Linked DNA regions of Homo sapiens: regions 2, 3, 4, 5, 6 and 7 are each linked to region 1. Evidence: promoter capture Hi-C in 16 types of primary human blood cells and fetal thymus (Javierre and others, 2016). All regions are on one chromosome and are shown on one strand. Each heading gives the region's core, a stretch centred on a gene start or on the middle of the fragment in contact. The rest is flanking DNA. Distances are from core to core; before and after follow the strand shown. Region 1 holds the start of NSUN3 (NOP2/Sun RNA methyltransferase 3). Region 2 overlaps CEP70 (centrosomal protein 70). Region 3 overlaps COPB2-DT (COPB2 divergent transcript). Region 4 holds the start of STAG1 (STAG1 cohesin complex component). Region 5 holds the start of FAIM (Fas apoptotic inhibitory molecule). Region 6 overlaps DIPK2A (divergent protein kinase domain 2A). Region 7 holds the start of PXYLP1 (2-phosphoxylose phosphatase 1).

Region 1 (2,700 bases), core at 181-2,680:
GTATTAATTAATTGCAACATTCTGGAATGAACATAGAAAAATAAATTATATAAAATATATTTATAAAGTATAAATTTATAAAATATTTATAAAATATAAATTTATAAAATTATAAAAAATACAGAGGCTGAAAGGTTAGACCGACTTTTCCACAAACATTAAACAGACGGCATCCAAGAGATGGCATCATTTCATTCCTGATTATCATAGTCTTTTGTACCAAATCTAAATTCTAATAAGATGCATTTTTTAGGTGACTTGGAAACTTGTTTAAATAAATAAATATATTAAGCTTCAAATCAGATTAGAAGGAAAGACATGTTTTTACATGAATATAAGACTTGTACCTATAGCATGTACGTATATTGATATGAGCATCAAGGAACAACTCAAAATGATGATTATTAACTATCAGGGACCATATCAAACCGGTTTTTTCTAATTGCTGATTGCTGCTACAAATGATAGTTACTGAAGCATGACACCAAAAGAGCAAATAAACTTCTATTCGTGTCAAAATAGGTGTAATAAACATCTTCCTTGGAGAACCATTAAACATTGCTCCCTTGTAAAGGTGAATTGGGGAGGCTAGAGTGGAGGGTCCTTTTGGTCTTCACGCATTTGGTATCAACGCGACAAAAATCACAATGATCACAATAGTGAAAATAATAGCAGCTAACATTTGGGCATTTACTGTTTCCTAATCACTGTTGTAACCGCTTTACATGCCTACTTCAGTTTAACACTCTCCATTAAAAGGAGAGATTATCCCCATGGGCCAGGTCTGGGGAAAAGCATGACTTAATTTCTTTTTCATTATATTCCACCCTTTTATCCTTGGGTACTGAATGTCTAGGTTAACAGGGGTCACTAGATTTGGTAGATTAAGTCAGTAACTAGCTTCGCTTTGAGAATATTTTAAATCAGTCATCATACAACATAACCCCAAAACTCATTCCTTTATTGAGCCCCATGCATATACACACTGTTCAGCACAATATGCGACTTTTTATTTATTTTTGAGACAAAGCCTCGCTCTGTCGCCCACGCTGCAGTGCAGTGGCGCGATCACGGGTCACTGCAACCTCAAACTTCTGCCCAAGCGATCCTCCCACCTCAGCATCCGCAGAAGCAGGGGCCGCACAGGCGCGCAGATGTGTGACTTTCTAAGGTCCGGCCGCCCAAAGCTACGCCGACCAATCCAAGTAGCGAAAGTCGCTTTGGCCCTGGCCCGTTACCTCCGCGTCCTGGGAAGTATCAGCCTTTACCAGCTACCGGAAGTAACTGCGCACGAAATCTCCCGCGGGAGCTAAGCCTCTTCGACAAGAATTCTATAGCGCGAGCAAATCAGTATCTCGCGAGAAATTGAAGAGGAAACGTGAGAATGAAAGTGGATGCCCGCGAATCCCGGAAGTCAGACTGTTTTTTTCAGTTCCCTGGAGGCTTTTTGATACTGATTCGCGTACACCTGTTGTTTGAAAGCTCTCAGCGGGACAATGCTGACCCAGGTGAGACCTGGGGCCCGGCTGGGTACCTCTATCTGAATGAGACGCTTCTGGACGCGGCCGAGGTGGCGAGGGAGGGTGCTGGGATGGGGGAACATCACCTTTGTTCGTCCCCTCGCGAGATCAGCGTTTCTTTGGCTTTACTGTCAAGCCCTGAAATAATGCTGAGTGCTGTAATGCTGAGTCCCTTCCGTCCAGCTCGCAGACTTCTAGTACCCACTCCCTCCAGCTCTTGGAGGGCTGAGATTTGTTTTCTGTGTCACAGCGGTATCCCGGGAGCTTAGAACAGTGTCTGTTACATAGTAGGCATTGAATACACGTTTCTTGGATGAATAAATGAAACAATTGCAAGGAAGTTCACGATGAAATTGGAGTGACTTTTCTCCCTAAATTAACTTTTCACTTTAAAATAACGTTGCAAAGATAGTACAGAGTTCTCAAATACCTTTCACCAATTTTTCTTGATGTCAGCATCCCCGGTGACTTTTTAGTTTTGTTTAGATACAAGTTCTTGCTCTGTCACCCAATCTGGAATGCAGCTGCTCCATCATAGCTCACTGTAACCTTGAACTCCTGGGTTCAAGCGATCCTCCAGCCTCAGCCTCCCTAGTAGCTAGGACTACAGGAGCAGGCCACTACGCCTGGCTAATTTTTTTTTTTTTTTTACTTTTTGTAGAGACACGTCCTTGATATGTTTTCCAGTCTGGTCTTGAACTGGGAAATGATCCTCTCGCCTCGTCCCTGCAAAGCATGAGCCAGCTGGAGTACAGTGGCGCGATCTCGGCTCACTGCAACCTCCACCTCCTGAGTTCAAGCGATTCTCCCACCTCAGCCCCCTGAGTAGGTGGGGTTACAGGCGCCCACCACTACTCTCGGCTAATTTTTGTATTTTTAGTAGAGACGGGTTTCCCGTGTTGGCCAACCTGGTCTTGAACTCCAGACCTCATGTGATCCTCCCGCCTCTGCCTCCCACAGTGCTGGGATTACAGGTGTGAGCCACCTGCCTAGCCCCTACAGTGACTTTTTAAAATTAATTTTGTTCCTTTTGACAGTTTCTTCAGCCCCAGTAGATTCTGTTTTAACCTTTGCTTCACATTTGGAAAATAATTATTTGGAAAAACCTTGCTTTTTCATAATTAGATAATGTACAGTTTTGGTACATGTAAGGTATTGCTTCCATTTCAAGAACTAGTAA
Region 2 (2,700 bases), core at 57-2,556, about 45 Mb after region 1:
GAACCTGGGAGGTGGAGGCTGCAGTGAGCCAAGATAGCGCCACTGAACTCCAGCCTGGGTGACAGAGCGAGACTCCATCTCAAAAAATTAAAAAATAAAAAATAATGAGCCAGGCATGGTGGCCTTTAATCCCAGCACTTTGGGAGGCTGAGGCGGGCAGATCACAAGGTCATGTTCAAGATCAGCCTGGCCAACATAGTGAAACCCCATCTCTACTAAAAATACAAAAATTCTCTGGTGGCGTGTGCCTGTAGTCCCAGCTACTCGGGAGGCTGAGGCAGGAGAATCACTTGAACTCAGAAGCCAGAGGTTTCAGTGAGCCATAATCATGCCACTGCACTCCAGCCTGGGTGACAGAACTAGACTCCATCTCAAAAAAATAAAAATAAATAAATAAATAAGATAATGGATTATAAGATAGTATTTTCAAGCCTCATGGTGACCTTACATCCAAAAACATACAATGGATACACAAAAAATAAGAAGCAAGAAATTAAAACATACCACCTAAGAAAAATCACCTTCACTAAAAAAAGATAGGAAAGAAGGAAAAAAGAAGAGAAGACCACAAAACAACCAGAAAACAACAAAATGACAGTAGTAAGTCCCTATTTGTCAATAACATTGAACATAAATGGACTAAACTCACAATCAAAACACTAGAGTGGCCGAACTGAAATACACTTCACCTATAAAGACACATATAGACTGAAAATTAAGAAATGGAAAAGGATATTACATGCCAATGAATCCAGTATAGCAGGAGTAGCTATACTTATATCAGACAAAAGAGATTTTAAGACAAAAACTGTAAGAAGAGACAAACAAGGTCATTATATAATGATAAACAGGTCAATTCAGCAAGAGTATGTAACAATTGTAAATATTATACACCCAACATTGGAGTACCCTGATATATAAAGCAAATATTATTAGAGCTCGAGAGATAAATCTCAATTCAATAATAGTTGAAGACTTCAACACCACCCTTTCATCAGACAGATCATCCAGACATAAAATCAACAAAGAATCATCTGACTTAATCTGCACTATAGAACAAATGGACCTAACAGATATTTACAGACGTTTCATCCAATGGCTGAAGAATACACATTCTTCTCCTCAGCACATGGATCATTCCCAAGGATGGACCATATGTTAGGCCACAAAACAAGTGTTAAAACATTAAAAACAAACTGGAATAATATAAAGTATCTTCTCTGACCACAATGGAATAAAACTAGAAATCAGTTAACAGGAGGAATTTTGGAAACTATTCAAACATATGAAAATTAATCAATAGGCTCCTGAATCATCAGTGGGTCAATGAAGAGATTAAGAAGGAAACTGAAAAATGTCTTGAAACAAATGATAATGGAAACAGAACATACCAAAACCTATGGGATACAGTGAAAACAGTACTGAGAGAAATTTATAGCTTTAAGTGCCTACATGAAAAGAAAAACTTCAAATAAACAACCTAATGAACTAGAACTAGAAAAGCAGAGCAAACCAAACTGAAAGTAGAAGAAATAATAAAGATTACAGCAGAAATAATGAAATTGAAACAAATAAGACATAAGAACAATAAAACAAAAAGTTGGTTTTTTGAAAAGATGTAGAAAACTGATAAACCCTTAGCCAGACTAATGAAGAAAAAAGAGAAAAGATTCAAAATCAGAGATGAAAAAGGAGACATTACAACCAATACTGCAGAAATACAAAGGATCATTAGAGCCTACTAGGAGCAACTATATACCAATAAACTAGAAAATCTAGAAGAAATGGATAAATTCCTAGACACAAACAACCTACTAAGATTGAACCATAAAGAAATCCAAAACCTGAACAGACCAATAACAACTAACAACATTGAAGCTATAATAAAAAGTCCTCCAGCAAAGAAAAGCCTCGGACTCCATGGCTTCACTGCTGAATTCTACCAAACATTTAAAGAATTAACACCAACCCTACTCAAACTATTCTGAAGAATGGAAGAGGAGGGAATACATCCAAACTCATTCTATGAGGCCAGTATTACCCTGATACCAAAACCAGACAAAGACATATCAAAAAAAAAAAAAAAAAAGAGAGAGAGAGAGAAAAACCTACAGGCCAATATCCCTGATTAATATTGATGCAAAAATCTTCAACAAAATACTAGCAAACCAAATTCAACAACACATTAAAAAGATCATTCATCATCAACAAGTGGGATTTATCCCAGGGATGAAAGGATGATTCAACATATGCAAATCAATCAATGTGATACATCATTATCAACAGACTGAAAGACAAAAACCATATGATCGTTTCAACTGATACTGAAAAAGCACTTGATAAAATTCAACATTCCTTCATGATTTAAAAAAAAAACCCTAAAAAAACTAGGTATAAAAGGAACATACCTCCACATAATAAAAGCCATGTATGACAGACCCACAGGCAGTATCACACTGAATCGGGAAAAACTGAAAGCCTTTCCTCTAAGATCTAGAACAGAACAAGGATAAAAAATTGACAAACCTTTAGCCAGACTATGAAGGAAGAAAGGAAAAAAGATTCAAATAAAATCAGAGATGAAAAAGGACTGGAATTGCTGTAGTTAGGACTAGAATTGCTCTAGCTAGAGATGAAAAAGGACTGGAATTGCTCTAGCTAGCAGTTAGACATGAGAAAGGAAAAAAAGGCCATCAAAAT
Region 3 (2,700 bases), core at 47-2,546, about 45 Mb after region 1:
TATGCACAAATAATTGAATACCAGGCAGAATATGAGTACCTTCTGAGAGAAGTACCAGTAAAATACTCTGAAGATAAAATATCCAGCTAGGGAGATAAGTTTCATAAAGGAGGTAGAATCTGAGGTGGACTTTGAGGTGAAGAGTATACGGCATGTTTGAGAACCAAAAAAGGTCCAATTTGTTTGGAGAATGGTATTCATTTAGAAGAGCAGTGAGGGAGAAGGTTGAAGAGGAAGCTTGGGGCTAGAACCTGAAGATTTTTAAATCGGGAGAAATTGAGCTTTGAGTCAAGCAGTTGGGACTTACTGGGCCAGATAGGAAACCTGTTTATATCTGTACTCTAGATGATTTGTCTTTTGTTGATGTGTATGACACACTAAAAGAAGTTGAAACAGACTATATAAGTTTGGTGGAAGTGAGTGTGGAAATAACAGTAATAAGGAAAAATTTTTATTAAATGCCCACTATGTACCTACCTGCCATTGGAATATGTACTTTGCATACTGCAATTCATAAAGTAATACTAAAAGATAGGCATTATTTTCTCCAATTTATAGATGAAAAACAGAGGCTTAAATTGATTAAGTAGTATACCTCATGCCACATTGCTCATGACTGACAGACCTGAGATATGAACCTAAGTTATATTTAATGATACTAACATCTTTTTTTACTGGATTGTAATTTCTCCTTTTTTCCCTGAGAAGCTAGAATCAACTGGATACACAAATGCGTTTGTTGAATTGAGGGAGTGGGAGGCATCCTATTGCTGATGTTTTTAATCTAATGAACCCAGAAGAATATCTTTAATCAGAGGAAGATGTGGAGCCAGTGAATGATAGTGGAGCCAATGAAGGAACAATCAGAGAAAGAGAATCAGGAAAGAAGAAAAAGTGAAAGAAAAAGAAGTGGAGTCAGTGTAGGAACAATCAGAATAAGAGACCCAGAATAACTTTATGTCACAGAAGGAAAAGAAAGGGAAAATGTGACTGGGTGACTAGCATCTTGATAGCTTTAGAGAATTTAAGGAGGCTTAGTATTTGCCAAAACTATTGCCAATGAAATAAATGATTATGAGGACACTATCAGCCTTCAAAAAAGTTGAGTAATGGTAGGGAAGGCAAGTTTACAAAGGGTTTAGAAATTATTGGATGATAAAAAAAGTAGAGGTCATCAGTATAAACTATTTTACCAAGCGATTAGTGAAGAAAGGCAAATGTTGATGTGAGAGGTGTCTCACTGTAAGTGGGTTGACTGTTCCTGCATTTAGGGCATGCTTGATTTAATTATGATAGGCTCCAAATGGATGCAGGCCACTAAATGGACCTTTGTAGTGTGAGTAGGAACTAGCCAGGTAAATGTCAAGAGAGTATATCTAGAGCATTTGACTTTTCCAGAGAGCTAAGAATAGTTCAGCATGCCTGGGCCAGAGAGTAAGAAGGGGGAGGATTGAGAAATGGTATTAGAAAGATAAATGAGATTCAGATTCTGAAGATCCATGATAGCCAGTTAAAGGAGTCTGGACTTTATCCTGTAGGCTCTGGGGAACCATTTAAGAATGTTAAGTAGGGTAATCTTCATGCTCCATTACTGATACATCATCACATGTCAGTTACTTTTCCTGTTAGAGGAAATGTTAAGATTATCAGCCTGATTTCTGTATGAGGTGAATGAAAGCAAAAGTTTTGACCACATAGTCAAGTAGCAGCCAGCAGCAGACTAAATTGAGTTGGAGATCCACTGAACTGTCTTCCAAGAAAAATGGAGTTTGTGGTTGCCCAACACTTAGAGGCAAATGTTGGACTGATTGCAAAAGCATTGACCAACCACAATGTGCTGTACACTTCATGTGACTACCTTCTAAACATTTTAAATTTGTTAAATTTACTCCATGGGAGTTTGATGTAGAATTCCAGATGCAGAGGATGCTAACTTTTGTTTACCTGAAAGTGTAAAAATCCAGATTATTAGTAATGTGTTTGACTTGTGTTAATTTTACCTTAAAAATTACATTAACCTTATGTTTTTCTAATGAGTATTTTTAGAGGAGTCAAAGTTTAAAGTGAGCTTTGAATGAAACAAAGGAGGTGATTTCATAGATGGGAATTGCTAGACATTGTAAATATGGCAGTAGACTGGGGAGTTTGTTAGTGATCTCCACAGTTCTCCATCTGCGGATTCGTTCTCTACCCCACTCTTCACTCATGGGGTACAGACCCCATGGTAAGTCATGACCAGTGGGCTCTGGGTACTTCTTTGCCCCAGGGTTGTCAAGTGAAGTGAATCTCTGGGTCTTAGTTTTATTACCTACAAAATAATAATGGACAGCATTAGCTCCAAAGTCTCTTCCTGTTGTAAGCTTTTTTATACTTTTGAGTCTGTGATTCTATGTTCTTGTCAAACGAAGTGGATGAGGGGAGTGCCTGCAGGGTGTTTTAATGGGCATTTGTCTTTACTTAATTCAAGTGCCAGTGTAGTAGCGTTTCCCACATCTTTCATAGCATGCATTGTTCTTTTTCTCTGGAAGCCACCTTCCATCAGCAAATTTTTGTTGAGATTTTGTTGTGCTTGGAACAATGCTCTACAAACCTGAGGCTCCTGGGGCTCAGGACAAGGAGGCTGGTAGGCATGAGGGGACAAGGAATACAGGCCAAGTGTGCCTGGTATGTAGAGGTCCCAGGTGAACATTCTCTCAACCA
Region 4 (2,700 bases), core at 179-2,678, about 43 Mb after region 1:
GAATGTGCAATTTTCTTAAAACACGAGGAAAACTAAAATGTAGAGTCATTCAAATTCCAGATAAGTTACAAATCACACAACTTTGTGCCAATTCAGATACTTTCTCAAGTAAACACTATTTTTGCGAAGATGCAAGTCTTTCTAGTCAGAATCACGAGAATAAACTCTATCCATCTTAACACCAACTTTAACAGCAAATAATTTTTTTTTATGACAAATTGCGTTTTTTTTTTTTGTTTTTTTTTTGTCTGTAAGTGTCCAAAACTATCCTATGACTTATACTCCCGGAGCACGATTCCCTGCAATGTGAAGAGAATCGACAGATAACATTTCAAATGTGGGTAGATGGGGGTGACGTGACAATCCTAAAACCTGAAAATTTCTTAGTACCCATACCATACAAGAAGAACCCAGTTCGGACCCTGCAAACGGGGCTCAGGTCCAACTCCAAGCACTCTAGTTTCCCACCCCGCCCCCACCTCGAGAAAGGAGGGAAAACAACTTTTATTGGCCTCGTCTCTCAGGGGACTGGCAAACTAGCGGGGCAGTGCTTAGGCCTGGACACGTTTCACAAGGAGGCCCCCGTCGGGGGCTGAGAGGGCAGATAGCTGGAAAGCCCAGCATTGATGCATCTCCCCCAGCCGCCACCCCGCTGCCCCACCCCGCCAACAAGAAGCCTGGGCCAGCCGCCCCGCCGAGCGACCCCCCAGGCCCCTCCGCTGAAATGAACTCGTTGTCATGTGACGCCGCCGCCGCTAAAACACCGCAGAAACGCAGGTCGGCAGGCGGCGGAAGGCATTCGCGCCAGCCCGCGTCGGCCCGGCCCCGCTGGGCGCGGGCGACTCCCGAGAGCCCGGGCGGGGGGGGGCGGAGGGCGGGCTTGGCGGCGGGCCCGAGCGCGCCACAAAGGCTTCCGCGCCTGTCGCCGTAGTGCCCGGGCGGGCGGGGGCAAAATTTTTGGTGCCCGCGGGAGGGGTGGCAAGCGACGAAGACGCCGGGGTGCCCACCGCGCCCACAGACGTCTCTCCGGGCACTCGGACGGCCCACGACCGCCGCACCCCGCACAGGCCCGCGCGGCCTCCCTCCCCCGCACGGGGCCCGCGCCCGGCCCGCCCGCTCGCCGCTCGCGCTCTCTCGCTCTCGCCCGGCCTCCATCTTGGATCGGCGCTTCCAGCCCCCGCGCCGCTGCCGCCGCATTCCCCCTCTTTCCCGCCCCCCGCCGCCGTCGCCGCCGCCCGCACTCACCTCAGCTGCCCATCCGGGCGCCGCCGACCATCGACCTAGTTTCCCCCCAAAAGTCTCCGGTGTGTTATTCCCGATGTGGGGGGGTTGTTACGGGGTGGTCGCCGGGGGTTCGGGAGCGGGGGCCGCGCCTTCAACGGAGCTGCAATCCTAACCCGCCATCTGGTGGCATTTTCCACACGCCAATGGCGCCGCTGCAGACTTGGGTCCGGACCGCCCTCTGCTGGCCGCGGTGCTCACTGCCTTGCTGACGGGACGGGCCTGCCCGGAAAGGGGAGGGAGCTGAGGCGCGAGCTAGGGGCCGCGGCAGGGGCGCGCGCAAACGCTTTCCAGTGGGGATTGCGCGCACGCGCACCAGCGGGGCGGGAAACGTGGCCGCTGCGTGGCGGCCCCGCCCCCACACGGAGCGCTCGCGCAGTTCAGCCAATCGCGAGAGGCGTAGGCTTCTGGATAAGGGCGCTGTGGACGGTTCTTGGGCCGCCCGCGGCTGGCGGAAGGACGGCCACGGTGGCGCCTGCGCGTCCGGCTCGCCGAGTTGCCGCCCGCCATTTTTGGAGCTTCTTGGAGATCTAGGCAGGAACCCGCCCCGGGTTCCTTCACCGAGGCTCCTCCCTAGGTCTCAGGGCCGGCGCTTTCCTCTGTTCCCGCCCGGCTCCTGCTGCCCCCATCCGCAGCTCTCGAGACGCCCTGCGGAAACCCGAGGGTGAGGCCGCGCAGATCCCTGCTCCTACTTGGATTTAGCAAGGGCCTCAGAGCTTAGCATTGTATTCGCGATTTACGGCTGACAAGCGCTTTCACCAGGCAAGAGTGAAAAGGTTTCAAAAGGACTATTGGGGACTTCCCTCGCCATTAATCTAGACGAAACACCGCCGGCCCTAGGCCGATTGGCGTCATCCTGCCTCTGTAAAGCACATCTTTCCGTGGTGTCGGCTTTGCATAAGGCGGCAGCATTGGCTAGTTTGTGAGAGGAGAATATAACTAGACTGAGAAGATAGACTCAGCTGTGAAAGTGGATTTCTCCCTCCACAACCTAGGACTACTTTCAGTAGCTCTGAAATACACATGAGAATCTTAGCCTTCTAGATGCCAAAAGAGAAATAATCAGTAAGGTGAAATCATTAACAAACTATTTATGTTTAACGTCGCCTCTTCCCTGATCTCCACCTGCCCGTCCGTGGCCATGGATCCCTACCTTTCACCTGCTTACAACTTTTCACCACAAAAGTGAATCCTTACTCTCCTGGATCATTAGCCCCATATATGACTAACTTCTCTATCGCTATAGCCAACTCTATTTCAGTATGGAATCGCTCAACTACTTTATAGTCTTAAGGGCCTGTCTCCAGTAGGTTACCCCTATTTGTGTTTTCTCTCTCAAGGGTTTGCAAGATGTGTGGCTTTTCGCTGGAGGAAGTCATAACTGACCAGATTGGATATGAATTCGTGACTGGACTCCTA
Region 5 (2,700 bases), core at 68-2,567, about 45 Mb after region 1:
GACGCATGCCACCACGCCCGGCTAATTTTTGTATTTTTAGTAGAGCTAGGGTTTCACCACGTTGGCCAGGCTGGTCTCAAACTTCTGACCTCAGGCAATCCGCACCTGGCCTCCCAGAGTGCTGGGATTACAGGTGTAAGCCACTGTGCCCGGCTGTTTTTTTTTTTTTTTTTTTTTGAGACAGAGTCTTGCTCTTCGCCCAGGCTGGAGTGCAGTGGCTCAATCTCAGCTCACTCCAACCTCCACCTCCCAGGTTGAAGCGATTCTCCTGCCTCAGCCTCCCAAGTAGTTGGGACTACAGGCATGCACCACCACGCCCCTCTAAGTTTTATATTTTCAGTAGTGACGGGGTTTTGCCATGCCTGCCTCAGCATCCCAAAGTGCTGGGATTACAGGCGTGAGCCACTGAGCCCGGCTGTTTCTTTTTGTGTGTGTTTTTTTTAATGAAACAGGGTCTCGCTCTGTTGCCCAGGCTGGAGTGTAGTGGTGCAATCACAGCTCTCTGCAGCCTCTACCTCCCTTCAGGGCCCAAGCAATTCTCCCACCTCAGCGTCCCAAGTAGCTAGGATTACAGGCCTGAGCCGCTAATTATTTTCTTTTCTTCTTTCTCATTCTCTCTCTCTCTTTTTTTTTTTTTTTACCATGTTGCCCAGGCTGGTCTTGAACTCCTGGACTCAAGAGATCCGCCACTCTGCCTCCCAAAATGCCGTGATTACAGGTATGAGCCACCACACCCAGCAATGCTGCAAGTCTTATGGGCCAGGATAGTGTAATCTAAGAAATGATATATGAAGAACTCTCACAATAGGGAAGAGGTGAGGAGTGTCCAGGCAGAGAGAAGAGCATTTGCAGAGGCCCTGGGCGAGAAGAAACCTGCATCCTTTAAGGACCTAAATGAAGCCAAGCAGGCAGAGGCTAGATCACACATGGGGGCTTCATGCCCACCTTAAGTAGTTTGGGTCTTTAAAAAAGGAATGAGACTCATAAAGAGGTTTTAAGGAGCGAATGCTATTGCTGCCATGAACAGATATTCCTTCCCCATAGCTGCAGAGCAGGCACAGGGCTGTTTTTGCCCGCCAGTATGTCCCCACCGTCTAGCCCAGAGCGGGGCCAGCGGCCGGCTCCTACCCACACTTGCTGGCAGGAAGACTGGACGCACTGCGGGACATGGTGATGTCCTGGGTTGGGGCTGAGGAAGGCCTATGCGCGGAGGGTGCGGCCTTCGGCTAAGGCAGAGGACCAGGGTTGGGTCCGTGGCGGCGGGAGGGGTGGCCTCCTGCGCTGGTCGCCCCAGGGGACCTGAGAGGCGCGACAAACAGTCGGCGCGTTTGGTACTCGCGCCTGCAGAGCTTTCAACCTCCGCGCCGGCTGCGCCTGTTTCTCGGCCAGGGGAGCAAGGCCACGCGGCCTACGCAGCCGAGTCGGAACCAACCGGTTGTTTGGTGAAACCTACCCCAGAGCCTCCCGCGGCCCACAGAGCACAGGTGAGGCAGCAGACCGGGTGGGGTCGGTGTCGCGCCTGCGCCCGCCCGGACGCCTCGGGCCCGCCCGCTCCGCACCCTGGAAACCCCTGCACTCAGCCCCCCGGCGTCCCCACGCTCTCGGCCCTGCTGCGCCGGCGGCGGCCATCTCTGGGCGGCGGCGGCGGGCGGTGTTTGCGCGGTCGGTGAGACCCGCGCGGGTGAGACGCTGGGTGAGTTCCGGACGCTTCCAGCCGGCCCGCCGGTGATCCCAGACCTCGGGGCGGGACGCGGCTCCCGCTCACCGCCGGCAAAGGTGGAGGTGCGGCGGGGCGCGGGGCGCGGGGCCAGCCCGGGGCGGTGCGGGGGCGTCCCTGCCTAGCGAGGCCCTGCCCCGCGACCTGCCGCACCCTCCTCCGGCCTGTTCGCGACCTCTAAAGATAATACTTCTCACTGTCGAAAACGTGGAACAGAAAGCAAGGAAGCAAGCAAAGCAGCCGTGCCGCTGCTCCCCAGAGACAAGCTGCGTTAACATGAGGGTGTATATTCTTCCAGATGGTTTTTCCTTGTAACATGAGCGGGGCTTGTTTTTGCAGAACCTGCATCATAAAGTGCTGAAACTCTCTCTCTCTCTCTCTCTCTCTCTCTCTCTCTCTCTCTCTCGACTCTCTCTCTCTCGACTCTCTCTCTCTCTCTCTCGACTCTCTCTCTCTCTCTCTCTCTCTCTCGACTGTACATTCCTGTGTGTCAGGTTGACTACCTCATCCATCCCTGACTCTTGGCATGGCTTTGGACTGTGATTTACTAAATGTAGTTTCTCCCTGATGGTGAGCGTACAAGTGGTTTTCAGTTTTTAGTTATTGCAAAAAGTAATTCATTGAGCATCGTTGTATCTGGGTTTTTGAGCGTGATCATTTCTGTAGAAAGAATCGCACAAGATTCGTTCTAAAACAAGATAGAATCCACGGTCTATACCACAAGGCTTCTGGTATAGATTGTGAAATGGCCCTCAGAAAAGTTATTCTCCTTTTTGTACCTCCAGTAAGTAGCATTTGGGAATACTTGGCTCGAGGAGCTTCCTGAGTGATTTTACTGGAGACCCCCCTCACTTCATAAGGGGCCGGCCCGGAGATGAAGATGTCAACACTTGAGTGTGACTTGCATTATTGGCTGGCCCTACCTGGGGGCCTTTGCTGAAAAGGGAACCATGAGCATCTTAGTAACTACTATCATCTAGTAA
Region 6 (2,700 bases), core at 105-2,604, about 50 Mb after region 1:
CCTTATCTATGTAAGGCTGTAAAGATTTGTGATATAAATTTCCCCATATGAAATGGCATGAGAGTATGGCTTTCTTCTTATTGTTGGATAGTTTCACTAGTTTACAACAGTTTACCCATAGAATTATTATCTTCTAAAAAATGTTTATAAACATCAAGCAACAAGATAATGCTAGTAGTACCTTTATCTTCTACTCTGATACCCTTTCCTCGTCGTCACATTTTTACTTCACTAAGATGTGTGTATTTTAGTGCCAGGTATACTGTAATCCTATGAAAAAAAAAATGGAGGAGAGGAACTATGTTGACTTTTATATTGTGTAAATAGGAATCTTGAAGTATTCAAAAATTGAGTTGTTGAAGTAATTGGCAAGATCACAAGTTATTGTTGATAAATTTTCCATCGTATTTGTATTTAACCTATTGAATTTACAGAAAGGGAGAGTGTGTGTGTGTGTGTGTGTGTGTGAGAGAGAGAGAGAGAGAGAGAGAGAGAGATGCTGTCTGGATTTGTTGAAGTTCAGACAGAATCTCTGACTTTATAACCTGGAAGTAGTGAAGATGGTCTTGTTTGTAGGAAATGGAGAAAGCTCTTTGTTGTTTAGGGGGACGAGCTGGGAATGTTACTATTTGTGGAACTTCATTTGCCTTAAATTTTCTGAATCATGGTTTTAATAGGATTTACTTTATTTTTATAGTATATGACTATCATTAAGCTATGGTTTTTAAGCTTGCTTTTCTATTCTTATAAATGATATAATACATGCAAAGCACTTCACGTAGTATCTGGTAAATTGTAAGCATTCAATAAATGTTAGATATTGAATAAAGTAAAGGTAACTTTAACTGCCTGGTGCATTTGATCAGCTGTTTTGAAGCTCATTTGGGGTATGGATCACCTTAAAAATAATGGTGATTTTGAATATCAACCATACTTTAGTTATACTGATTTTTTTCCATTATTACTTTGATATAATTTTTTGTAGAAAACTTTCAGTGAATGTTGTTTTTGCCTTTAAAAGTAATTTATATAGGGAACAACATATTTTTTAAGTTCACTGGTGAAAATGTAGTTTTTGAAGTAAACAAAAGATTATTTAGCTAACGGTACTTTAGAAAAGTTGATAGATTTTTACTATTGGACTCACTTCCTTCTTTATAAAATGAAGCTATTGGATTAGATCCTTTTCAGCTCCAACATTCTGGGGCTTTCAAACTCTTGAGAAATTTGGTTTTTATTGTTGTTGTTGTTGTTGTTGTTTTCTTTTGAACTTTAACGAGTGGGTTTAATTAAGCTCTTCTGAAAGGGGATTGGGAGTGGGATGCTCTCTTTCAAGCCTTTCTTCCTACCCCCAAATTTTTACACACATGAAATAAAACAAAAACCAAAACCTTCCTTTAAGGGGAAATATGTGGAGTTAAGGGTAGCCAAGGATCTTGTGAGGCAATAGTGTGCAAAACGATGTTCCAGACTTTGTTTCAGGAGTTTCTTTTCAAACAACAGTTTAAGGAACCACCTACTTCTCCTTTACTGGCTGTTTCTTTAGTAACTGTCTTCCTAGATTTCGGCTTCAGAACACATTAGAGATGGTTCTTAGTAGAGCAGTTTTTAATCTAATAAATTTTGTAAGTTTTTGAACTTTTTGTGGCTTTTCATCTGAGAGTCCATTGACACTTTTGATTGCTCTTCAAGATAATCAAACAAAAATAATAAAACAATTTTGGATACCTCAAGTCCAAAAAGGGGGTGGGGACTTTTATTTTAGAAAGACCCTAGAAACAGACAATCGCCCTTAAGAAAGCATCACTTCAGAATCAGTAGAGCAAAGTCATTTGACATCCTGGACTAGTTTCTGGACATATCCATATCTTTTGACCATTTTGAATTTTGTCCTTTGTATACTTTTGTCTAGTCTTTGAACTATTCTTTATATTTCCATTGCATAGGTTAGCACATATTCTCACACATGTTGGGAAATAGAAAGCTTGTTTTTATAGGTCTTCTGGACATGGGTGTCCAGCTTCTCAGGGGATTGTCAGACTGGTTTTTATTCTGTTTTTTTGGTTTGTGGGCTCTGGCTTACTTCCTATTTTTCTGTCATTGCTGCTGACTCTTCACAGAATGCTATTTTTTTCTTTCTTCAGCTTTCACTCATTACCCATATGTTAAATTATGGCCTTATAATTTAAATCCTGCATTTTTCTAATACATTTGATGAACTTTAGTAAATGGTTGTAACATGACTGAAAATTATTAGTGTAAGGTGAGGTTAGTATAAGGTGATAGGAAGTTGTCTGTGAAATTCTTGAGAGCTCTTTGAATTTATAACCAAAAGAACTGAATTTGTCTGTTCATTTTACAATCTGTTACAAGGCATTTGGATTGAAAGGATGGAAAGATGGCCGTAGGAAACAAGTAGCTTACTATGTAGGAGGTAGGTACACAAATAACTAATTATTATACAATCCATTTAATAAGCCCTGTACAAAAGGTATCTATATCTATCTATCTATCTATATATATATATCTATATCTATATATATATATATATCTATATATATATATATATATCTATATATAGATATATATATATCTATATATATATATATATATACTGTCACATGACTCAGGGAGGGACATCTCATTGTATATTGATAGGAATGGTACCAGGGAAAGTTTCAGAGATTTTGCCAATAGATG
Region 7 (2,700 bases), core at 78-2,577, about 47 Mb after region 1:
ATCTTCAGCAGCGGCTCCAAGGAAGCCGCGGGCCGGGAGCAGGTGGGAAGGGCGACTGCGCGGGGCCACGACCTCCCCGGGTCTCTGCAGACCGTTGGAGACGGAGCAGCAGCGAGGACTAGAGCAACACAAGGCCGGATGTGTTCTGAGCCGGAAGAGGAGTGTGGGATAGGCCGAAAGGGGTGGGGGGTGGGGGGTGACAGTTTGGGTCTACGTGGCAGCAGGCGCACCCCAGACGCGCGCGCCCACCCGGCGATAGCATCAGCGGCGCCAGGGCAGGCACATGGCCCCAAAGCACCCACACTAGGGCCCGGGCCGGCCAGGGCTGTGTTCCTGGGCCTTGGCGCGCCTCCGCGCAGTCCCTGATCGCAGGTCAGGAGTTGTGAGGCACGCGAGAGCCCTGCGCGTCTGTGGTCGTGGTCCCTGCGCGCTCGGCTTGTCCGTGCCCGTGGCTTTGCACGCCGAGGGCTCTGCAGACTGACCAGTCTCTCCGGGCTGTGCTGGGCCTCCCAGAGGCAGTGTCCTCTCAGCAACCCCGCGCGGTCGCCCCCGCCCAGCCGCACCGCAACACCGCCTCCGGGGCGGAGCTCCAGGGCTCCTGGTGCAGGGCCGGCCGAACTGAGACGGGGCGCGGCGGGGTCGGCAGGGGGCGCTGCCGGGCCCCGCGAGCTCCCCGGTGGCGGGTGCGCGCCGCCCTCGCCTCCCCTCGCGCCGGGAGGAGCTGGCGGCGAGCGCCGAGCCGGGCGCGCAGCGACGGAGCTGGGGCCGGCCTGGGACCATGGGCGGTGAGTGCGGCGCGGGCCTGGGCCGGGGCGGTTGCCGTTGGGGCCGAGCAGCGCAGAGGTTCTAGGCGGGTGGGCGTCCAGGGTCCGAGGTTGGGAGACTGAGGGGGTCCCCCTAACTCGCCAGTGGGAGAGGGGCGGGAAGGCTGGGGGCGCTTCGAAGCGTCGGGTCCGAATCCCGCGACTAAGCCTCCTCCTTTATCCCCGCGCTCGCCCCTGAGCCTAGGACTTGCGCCCTCTTTCCTGCCACTCCCCCCGTGCGCCCGGTGTCCCAGCCCCGGCGCCCGCCCCATAGCCCCCTTCTCCCAGAGCTGGCGCCGTCTCACGCCCGCTGCGAACCCCCGGCTCTGTCTCCAAGCCCTCGCCCCCCGCAGCCCCGCACTCTCCCGCGGAGCCCGCCTCCACCTCGCCCCCGCCCTTCCAGCCCTCTCCCGCACGGCCCCCGCACTCCCGCCGCTGGATTCCAGCCGAGATTCAAGCTCCCGGGATCCCCCTTCCCGGGCGGTCCTGAGCCGGCTAGTCTCCAGGTAAGGAGGCGGCCGCAACTTCGCGGCCTTTCCCGGAGACGGGGCTGGCTCCTCTTGGCAGCCACCTGCAGCCTGACGCCTCCGGGAGTCCCGGGCCTGGCCACGGGGCCGCCCGAGCGCAGGTTAACATTCCTGGATGCGCAGGTTAGGACCGTGTGGTGTAGACCCACGACGTTGCTTTTGCTGGTGAACTTGCCTATGTCCTGATCTTTTAAATAAGCTGGGTTTGTCACACACACACACACAGAGAGAGAGAGAATGGATTTGCTTAGGGTAGGTTGCCTGCTTTGCAGCCGCAGCTGCCTTTTAAATTGTACCTGTGGATGGTAAAGGATTCACGGTGCAGGACGTGGAGCCATATTTTCCCGCTTCGGCTGTGAGTTCAGCGATTGCGAGGGGGCTCTGTAGTGAGTGAGGTTATCACCGCCTGGCTAGCCAGTGTCTTTGTGGAAAGGCAAGGATCCTTTGTAAGCATTCAACAAGTAAAATCAGGAGAGATGGGGAATCAGATCGAGCTGTGAATGGGGAAGTGTAGGGGGGTGGATGGGGGATCGGAGAGTGCTCCACAAATGGAGCCGTTTGTTGATATTTGCAGAAGGCCCGTGGGTGTGAAGCTGGCAGTGCGGAGCCCACCCTTTCAAACGGGATGCGACTGCGGTCGGGCTTGGCAGTAACTTACCCTCCTCAGAGGTGTTGGTGCCCAATCGGGACATCTGTGGGAAGGGGATTTATAGCAGATGGATCAAAAGGCCTCGGGCGCGGTGGCTCACGCCTGTAATCCCAGCACTTTGGGAGGCCGAGGCGGGCGGATCACCAGAGGTCGGGAGTTCGAGACTAGCCTGACCAACATAAAAACCCCGTCTCTACTAAAAATACAAAATTAGCCAGGCGTGGTGGTGCATACCTGTAATCCCAGCTACTCAGGAGGCTGAGACAGGAGAATCGCTTGCACCTGGGAGGCAGAGGTTGCAGTGAGCTGAGATTGCGCCATTGCACTCCAGCTTGGGCAATAAGAGCAAAACCCTGTCAAAAAAAAAAAAAAAAAAAAAACCCTCGTGGTCCCTGGAGAGAGGTGAAGATGCACGGGACAGCCTGAAAGCCAGTGTATGAATCTGCCCCATCCCTTCTCCTGGCTTTCATTAAGTCTTGGATTAAATTAATTGCTTATCTCAGAGAAAGGATGTGTAGGGGGAACTTCTCTGTTAGGGATTGGCTCCTGGCCAGCCCATCCTCACTGATGCCTTGGGAGGCTGCGTTTGGGCACCAGGAACAGCGTGGGCCACCTGGCCTTTGGAGCACAGCACTCCGAGTGTTTGTGGAACTGCAGTATCTGTAACTCTTTTTTCTATTGATCAGCTTGAATAGTTAGCTCAATATTACTTCACTATTGA

What was found. The method cuts DNA at HindIII sites, captures the fragments that hold promoters and counts their contacts. A CHiCAGO score of 5 or more calls a contact.
Region 2: a contact is called between a fragment that was not itself captured here and the fragment with the promoter of NSUN3 in region 1, in 1 of 17 cell types (non-activated CD4 T cells). The highest score is 7.2, in non-activated CD4 T cells.
Region 3: a fragment that was not itself captured here is called in contact with the fragment with the promoter of NSUN3 in region 1 in 1 of 17 cell types (total B cells); the score reaches 5.1 in total B cells.
Region 4: a contact is called between the fragment with the promoter of STAG1 here and the fragment with the promoter of NSUN3 in region 1, in 4 of 17 cell types (non-activated CD4 T cells, naive CD8 T cells, total B cells and 1 more). The highest score is 20.5, in non-activated CD4 T cells.
Region 5: the fragment with the promoter of FAIM here is called in contact with the fragment with the promoter of NSUN3 in region 1 in 2 of 17 cell types (total CD8 T cells and naive CD8 T cells); the score reaches 6.7 in total CD8 T cells.
Region 6: a fragment that was not itself captured here is called in contact with the fragment with the promoter of NSUN3 in region 1 in 2 of 17 cell types (non-activated CD4 T cells and total CD4 T cells); the score reaches 8.0 in non-activated CD4 T cells.
Region 7: a fragment that was not itself captured here is called in contact with the fragment with the promoter of NSUN3 in region 1 in 1 of 17 cell types (total B cells); the score reaches 5.2 in total B cells.

Annotation. Positions count from the first base shown.
Region 1 is chr3:94,061,631-94,064,330 of GRCh38, forward strand. NSUN3 (NOP2/Sun RNA methyltransferase 3) reads left to right here and starts at 1,431. Exons shown (of 6, transcript NM_022072.5): 1 at 1,431-1,508. The coding sequence starts at 1,497. It overlaps DHFR2 (dihydrofolate reductase 2), which reads right to left and starts at 1,286. Exons shown (of 2, transcript NM_176815.5): 1 at 1,116-1,286. RefSeq lists an enhancer at 1,325-1,564. The HindIII fragment of the contact is 2,538 bases long and covers 291-2,700 here.
Region 2 is chr3:138,582,391-138,585,090 of GRCh38, forward strand. All of the region lies in intron 2 of CEP70 (centrosomal protein 70), which reads right to left. Among named protein-coding and RNA genes, the nearest start is that of CEP70, 11 kb to the right of the region's middle. The HindIII fragment of the contact is 4,704 bases long and covers 1-2,700 here.
Region 3 is chr3:139,392,664-139,395,363 of GRCh38, forward strand. The region is part of intron 1 of COPB2-DT (COPB2 divergent transcript); the gene reads left to right. Among named protein-coding and RNA genes, the nearest start is that of COPB2-DT, 4.2 kb to the left of the region's middle. The HindIII fragment of the contact is 2,123 bases long and covers 236-2,358 here.
Region 4 is chr3:136,750,950-136,753,649 of GRCh38, forward strand. STAG1 (STAG1 cohesin complex component) reads right to left here and starts at 1,429. Exons shown (of 34, transcript NM_005862.3): 1 at 1,246-1,429. It overlaps STAG1-DT (STAG1 divergent transcript), which reads left to right and starts at 1,722. Exons shown (of 1, transcript NR_185911.1): 1 at 1,722-2,700. RefSeq lists silencers at 753-1,132, 1,453-1,682 and enhancers at 874-1,805, 1,693-2,012, 1,806-2,700. The HindIII fragment of the contact is 7,208 bases long and covers 1-2,700 here.
Region 5 is chr3:138,607,454-138,610,153 of GRCh38, forward strand. It overlaps FAIM (Fas apoptotic inhibitory molecule), which reads left to right and starts at 1,318. Exons shown (of 6, transcript NM_001033031.2): 1 at 1,318-1,484. RefSeq lists a silencer at 1,406-1,865 and an enhancer at 1,966-2,055. The HindIII fragment of the contact is 4,797 bases long and covers 1-2,700 here.
Region 6 is chr3:143,976,089-143,978,788 of GRCh38, forward strand. All of the region lies in intron 1 of DIPK2A (divergent protein kinase domain 2A), which reads left to right. Among named protein-coding and RNA genes, the nearest start is that of DIPK2A, 5.6 kb to the left of the region's middle. The HindIII fragment of the contact is 1,255 bases long and covers 728-1,982 here.
Region 7 is chr3:141,231,127-141,233,826 of GRCh38, forward strand. It overlaps PXYLP1 (2-phosphoxylose phosphatase 1), which reads left to right and starts at 699. Exons shown (of 6, transcript NM_001037172.3): 1 at 699-785. RefSeq lists a silencer at 438-817. The HindIII fragment of the contact is 5,995 bases long and covers 1-2,700 here.